Regions from separate parts of the Homo sapiens genome. Here region 2 is linked to region 1. The links are contacts of gene promoters, found by promoter capture Hi-C in blood cells and fetal thymus (Javierre and others, 2016). All regions are on one chromosome and are shown on one strand. The core of a region is centred on a gene start or on the middle of the fragment in contact, and the rest is flanking DNA. Distances in the headings are between cores, read along the strand shown. Region 1 holds the start of DSC3 (desmocollin 3). Region 2 overlaps DSG4 (desmoglein 4).

Region 1 (3,094 bases), core at 97-2,596:
CTTCTCCATAAACATATCGTAGATCATAACTACCAATCCCATATTCATACCTCGCTGACCTTAAGGGAGGACAACCCTTGGACCCACTCCCACTTGCCAGGGTGGAGGGCCAGGAAGCAGTAAGAATCCGCGAGACCAGACTCGGCTCACTGCCGACGCGGGTATAGACCTCGCTCCCATCGGACCCCATGCGCATCCATGGATGCGGGTAAGTCGCGGGTCCGCGGCTCCTTTCTGGGCGTGCGGAATGAAACTCTGTTGAAGCCTGAAGCTTCGCGTGTAACCGCGCCGCCAGAGTTCCGAACACTTCAAGTCTCCCGTGTTCTCAGAGCATCGTCTCTAACTTCCTCTCCTAGAGGATTTCGTCCTGGGCGGCAGGTTTCCGTAGACTCGAAACCCCAGGCTGTGCTCCGGCCGCGCAGTCCTCCCCGGAGCCGGAGTAAGTACGACGCAACCCCACCGCATCCATCATCCCCCACCACTGTCACCCTCTACCCGCCTCCACACCTCGGCAGCATCCCCAAAACACAACACGACCCCAACCCCCATTCTGGCCCGGTCTTCCCACACTTTCGCGCCCCCGGCACATCCCGCCCCCAGCTGGGTGGCTGGCGGGGGTGGACCGCTTGGGTGAGCTTCTGAATACCCTTTAGGGGAGATACCGAGAAACCCACTTCTCAGGGGCAGCCCCACCAAGGGACCCAGGGACACAGCCCCGGCTCCACTCACTAACGAACCAATCCGGGTCAACTGCGACCCAGAGCTGGGGAGGGGGCAGCCCCTAAATCCCTTTTCAAGTCTGTGCTTTGAGCTCTCAGGGATCCTCTCCACCCAAAGGCGCCCTCCAACCACCATCACCACCAGCTCCACCACCTGGGGAGAAGCGTGAATCCCAACCCCCTGCCCAACCCGCGACGGCGCCCGCCAGAGCGCAGCGAAGCCTGAGCGCGACTCAGAATTCCAACAATCGAACACCTTGTCTCAAAACAAAAAGCTCAGTCCAGAGTCGACCCGCAAACACACGTTTTCTCTCCTCACTCCTGCAGGCCCGAACTTGGGGCTGCTACCAGACCCGCAGCATTGATCTGAGCCGCGGTTGTCACGTTTCGGCCCGCTTTGTCCCCAGCTCCGTGCAGCGTCCAGGGCGGATCCACCCCCGTCCCCACCCCAGCCCTATCCGGCGAGATCTGGCTTACCACGAGGGTCAGCAGCAGATGCAGGCAGACGGCTCCGCGCACGGAGCGCCGGGGCCCAGCGGCGGCCATCGGGATGCCGGGCAGGGCCAGGAGAACGCGGGCGCCGGGAGGGTGCCGAGAGCGAGACCTGCCGAGGTGCAGGGCGCGGGAGGTGCTTTTCTCGCCGCTGCTTGTTTTTAAGTGTATTTGGCCTCTCTCAGGCTTGCCTGCCCGGGAGCAACTTCACTTCTGAAACCGGATTGGACCCAGAGGACGCGGAGAGGCCACTCCTTGTTATTTCTCAAGTTTTATCATCGCCGGCGCGGCTGAGGAGCTGCCCGAGCCTGCCCCTCTGCTCCCCAGCAGCCACCCGGGCGTTCGCGCTCGGGAAAGCGGTCTCTGGCGCACCCTCTGCCAGTTCTCCCACGCCCCTCGGCTGCCCCGCGGCGCTGCCGCCCCGCCCGGCCCGCAGAGAGGCCCTGGCAGCCCAGATCGTCCCAGGGCGGCCCCATCGCCGGCGCTGCGCGGTGCATCTCAATGCAGAACCCCAATCCGCCCGCAGGGATCCCTGCCTCGACACGGGCTCTGCTGGATGCCAGGAACACCCTTGTCATTGGATCAGCGGATCTCCCCTTCGACGTCTGAACAAATTCTGCCAATGTTTTCAGATTAAAGCAAAATACATGTACTGTATTCTCTCCGGATTTGACTAACATGACAAAATACACGACAGAAGGAATTTATCCCAGATGGCATGATAAACAGTTTTTGGCATGTCAGAAATTAAAACCAAATTTAAGAAATTCTAATCTAACCATTTTTACGCACCCAAAATATGAGTGATTACACTCAGCGCTCTATTAACTGTCAGTTTGGGGGACTCATATGAACCTTCTAAAAACGACTTTGTTCTTAGATGTGAATTATTGGTTTACTACTTACTGGTACCAAAATGAAATTTTTCAGGTGGTCAAAGGAATATCTACCACACAAAACCTTCTAAAACGAGGCTTACAGATTCTACATCATGCAACGACTATTTATCAGGGCCCGAAGTCGGCCAAGCTTTGTGTGAGGGCATGGAAGAAAGGAAATGCAGAAAATCTAGTTCCTGTCGGAAATAATTCAAAGTCAGAAAGGGACGAAAGACAATCATTCCTAGCCCAGTAGGCTACACTTTTTAATAGAGATGTCGTTTGTAACACCAGGGGGACATCCTCTTATTTCTCCCTAAACTGAATTTTAAGTTCCCCGAGTTCCCATCTACTGGATTCAGGAGGAAATCCCTCTCAGACATGAGATGCTACTCCTCGAAGTCCATTCAAAAGTTGCAAGGTCGGGAATTTCAGACAGCCAATTAATCATGAAAGGGTGTTATGACCTTCATTCATCTCACTCTGGCTCAAGTCTAATAGACTCCTCGTCGTCTAAGCCATGTATTCCCTGAAGTCTGGGGCTTCCCTGAAACTCATGAGGCTCAGCTTTAAGGGCTCAGACACTCTAAGTTGAGCTTCCCAGTGTGAATCTCCCAGGCACCCGTCAGTGGAGGTCTCTGTATGTAAGAGCTCTTCCAGTCTCAGAGAAAGTTCTCCAAACTTCTCTCCACTCCAGGGTTTTCACCTCCCATCCTCCACGTGCCTCCAGCATGACCTCAGAGAAAGCTTCTCAAAGTCACTTCCAGCCCCCCAGCCCTCAGAAACTCAAGTAGAATGGTTTTCTTGAACTTAGATGAGTAAAGGAGATGGCTAGCACCAATCTCCCTCCCTCACCACTTTGAATTCACTGTTAGAGTGAAGGGTTGAGGTGTTAAGGCATTTTAGAGGAGAGGATCTAACTTAGCTGAAGAAAGCTTTGAAGAAGCAAAATGTTGCGATAAGCCCAGCAAAGAAAAGGGAAAGGGTAGGAGAATGCTTCAAGAT
Region 2 (2,909 bases), core at 200-2,699, 370 kb after region 1:
CTTGCCATCTAGCGCTAAAGTTCTATGTGATTTGGTGGTGCTGTATTTATAAACTTGGATATGTATACTCAATCCCCTAAAGGAAAAAAATGAGATTTTCTTACATATATTTGTATTTTTGTTCTAAATATACTGCCACCAAATGCTCCCCAGAATGATTCATCCAGTGACTTCCTAAACCGAGCAATGTGTGTTAACTCGACATTGTCACTTTCTTGGGCAGTGGCTCCACTCTTGCTGCTCCTGTGTTGCTGCAAACAGAGACAGCCAGAAGGCCTGGGAACAAGATTTGCTCCTGTGCCTGAGGGCGGAGAAGGAGTGATGCAGTCTTGGAGAATTGAAGGGGCCCATCCCGAGGACAGGGTAAGTGGACTGTCACTCTCCAGAGAAGTGTGGAGTTTCAGTGGAAATTGAGCATGTCTTAACAATTACATGCTGCACAAAAATGAACAGATGTCAGTTTTTAAATGTTTAACATAAAGCGTTTGTTTTTAAAATGTTTATTTTTCTTTTCAGGATGTGTCAAATATATGTGCACCCATGACAGCCTCAAATACCCAGGATCGGATGGATTCCTCTGGTCAGTAGACACCAAAATCTGTTTTTCCTTTTAAATTTTTCAAAATTATTCAACCAGACCAACTTCATGTAAAAGTACCTTATGGAAAAGTCTGTCAGTCTCTTTGGGTGACAGTATAATTAGAGGGAATGTGACCTGTTTGAAGTAGCCACTTTTTTTTTCTATCTGAAACTACAGACAGTGAAGTATGACACAGCAGTTAAAAGAGCAAACTCTGGAAGCAGAATGCTTGGGTTTGATTCCCAGCTCTGCCACTTGCTTAAGGGTTGCATATCTTTTATCCGAAATGCATAGGACCATGAGTTTGAGTTTGGCTCAAACTTTTTGTACCATGATGATCAAAAAGTTTCAGACTTAGGAGCATTTTGGATTCTTGATTATTGGATTTGGGATGCTCAACCTGTAGTAATAAGTCCTTAGTCAAGACATTTAACCTCACTGGGCCTCAGTTTCCTTATCTTTAAAATTGAGCTTATGATAGTACCTACTTTAAAGTGTTGCTGTGAGGAGTAAATAATACATATTACATATGTAATATATAATACATACATATATTGTATAGATTATTTTATTATATATAACATACATGTGTATGTGTGTCTATATATATACACACACACATATATAAGTGTGTATATATACATATATCACAAAATATACGTTAGAGTAGTGCCTGGCACTGTAGTAATTATTTATAATACAAGCTGTTTTTTTTTAAAGAGCTAAAGAAAAGGCAGTAAATGTACTCTAATAATACACTGAATAACTTTTCTTAACTTCAGACAAGCTTTTGCCTCAAAAGAGTGTCGTAAACTCTCCTATCTTACCAGCCCCACGCATATCTAACAATACTGAACACACTACTTAGCTATATGGCAATGATTGCACCAAACAGAGAGGGTGCTTAATTCTGCAGTGCACGTGAGCTTTCTCTGATGGTTCCTTAGTATCCCAAGCTTGGCCCTTTGTATGCAAAGAAACTCCGTGACTGAACATCCCTGTGAGCCCAGCTCCATCCTGTTCCGGAGTGAAGGAGGACTATGAGCTCAGTTTCTGCAATCACGCCGCTGGCCTTGCTTTGGAGGGCTCCCGGCTGGATCAAGCCCGCAGCAGCCACGGCGGGAACGGGCGCCTGCTTGTAGTTCTCTTGGCTAGTTCTACACCTTTAAGTCTAGGGCGAAGTCTGTGCAAATGTGGGAAGGCCACGTCCCACCACTGACTCCCTCTGTGTAATTAATTTACTTTTATTTGGTCAACAAGCCTGGAGATGTATCGGTGTAACTTGTATCTCTCTTTGTCAGCTTTTTAGCGCCTACGCCTTGCCGGGTGGTGGTGGCACCGCAGACGGCGGCGGCAGCGTTTTAGGCAGATGCGCGCTGCAGGCAACTCCAGCGCTGTTAAACCAACATCCTCCCTTTTCAGAAATCTACACCAACACCTATGCAGCCGGGGGCACGGTGGAAGGAGGTGTATCGGGAGTGGAGCTCAACACAGGTATGGGGACAGCCGTTGGCCTCATGGCCGCAGGGGCCGCAGGAGCCTCAGGGGCCGCAAGGAAGAGGAGCTCTACCATGGGAACCCTGCGGGACTACGCTGACGCAGACATCAACATGGCTTTCTTGGACAGCTACTTCTCGGAGGTAATGCCCTCACAGTCACACATAAAATCGTCTTGAGATTGAATAATAATAATAGTAAAATACTCACAATGGTAGTAGGCCTCTTCGGAAATATGCTGTTATTCTCAACCCTATCCCAAACCTGAATAAAAAGTATTTCACGTCTCCTTAAAACACAAAATGCTAATTTGCCACAGGATTTCATATTCAACTGCCATAGCGCATCTTAGTACCGTGAACAAGGCCACACCCCTCATCATTCTCCACTTCCCTTTTCCATTTTTCTATCTTTTGTTTCCTTGATTCCTCACCTTGTTTCCCACAGCAGTAGCAAAGCAGGAAAATGCTCATCAAGGGGAAAAAAGGTGCATTTATGACCTCTGTTTTTGATGTCCTTCATGTTCTCCCGGAGCCTCCAACAGAAAAGAGAAAATAAAAAGAATTGGGAACGAAAGGAGTTAAAACTCAGGAACGCAGCATCACCACAACTCGTGCTAGATTAAGACCTAGAAGATAGCTCTCCTATTCTCAGTCCAGTGACTTATCCACCAACTGACCTTCACTACGAAAAGGGGTCCAGCAATAGCACTGCTGGGTATATATCCAAAAGAAAGGAAATCAGTATATCAAAGAAATATATGCACCCCCATGTTTATTGCAGCACTAGTCACGTAGCCAATACATGGAATCAACCTGTGTCCATCAACTGA

The links. The method cuts DNA at HindIII sites, captures the fragments that hold promoters and counts their contacts. A CHiCAGO score of 5 or more calls a contact.
Region 2: a fragment that was not itself captured here is called in contact with the fragment with the promoter of DSC3 in region 1 in 1 of 17 cell types (M0 macrophages); the score reaches 5.0 in M0 macrophages.

The regions. Positions count from the first base shown.
Region 1 is chr18:31,041,396-31,044,489 of GRCh38, forward strand. It overlaps DSC3 (desmocollin 3), which reads right to left and starts at 1,347. Exons shown (of 16, transcript NM_001941.5): 1 at 1,197-1,347. The coding sequence starts at 1,265. LOC124904345 (a long non-coding RNA gene) reads left to right here and starts at 138. Exons shown (of 2, transcript XR_007066445.1): 1 at 138-439; 2 at 1,047-3,094. The HindIII fragment of the contact is 1,969 bases long and covers 270-2,238 here.
Region 2 is chr18:31,409,229-31,412,137 of GRCh38, forward strand. DSG4 (desmoglein 4) reads left to right here. Exons shown (of 16, transcript NM_177986.5): 13 at 224-363; 14 at 517-580; 15 at 2,003-2,220. All of the region lies in intron 1 of DSG1-AS1 (DSG1 antisense RNA 1), which reads right to left. Among named protein-coding and RNA genes, the nearest start is that of DSG1-AS1, 16 kb to the right of the region's middle. The HindIII fragment of the contact is 169 bases long and covers 1,366-1,534 here.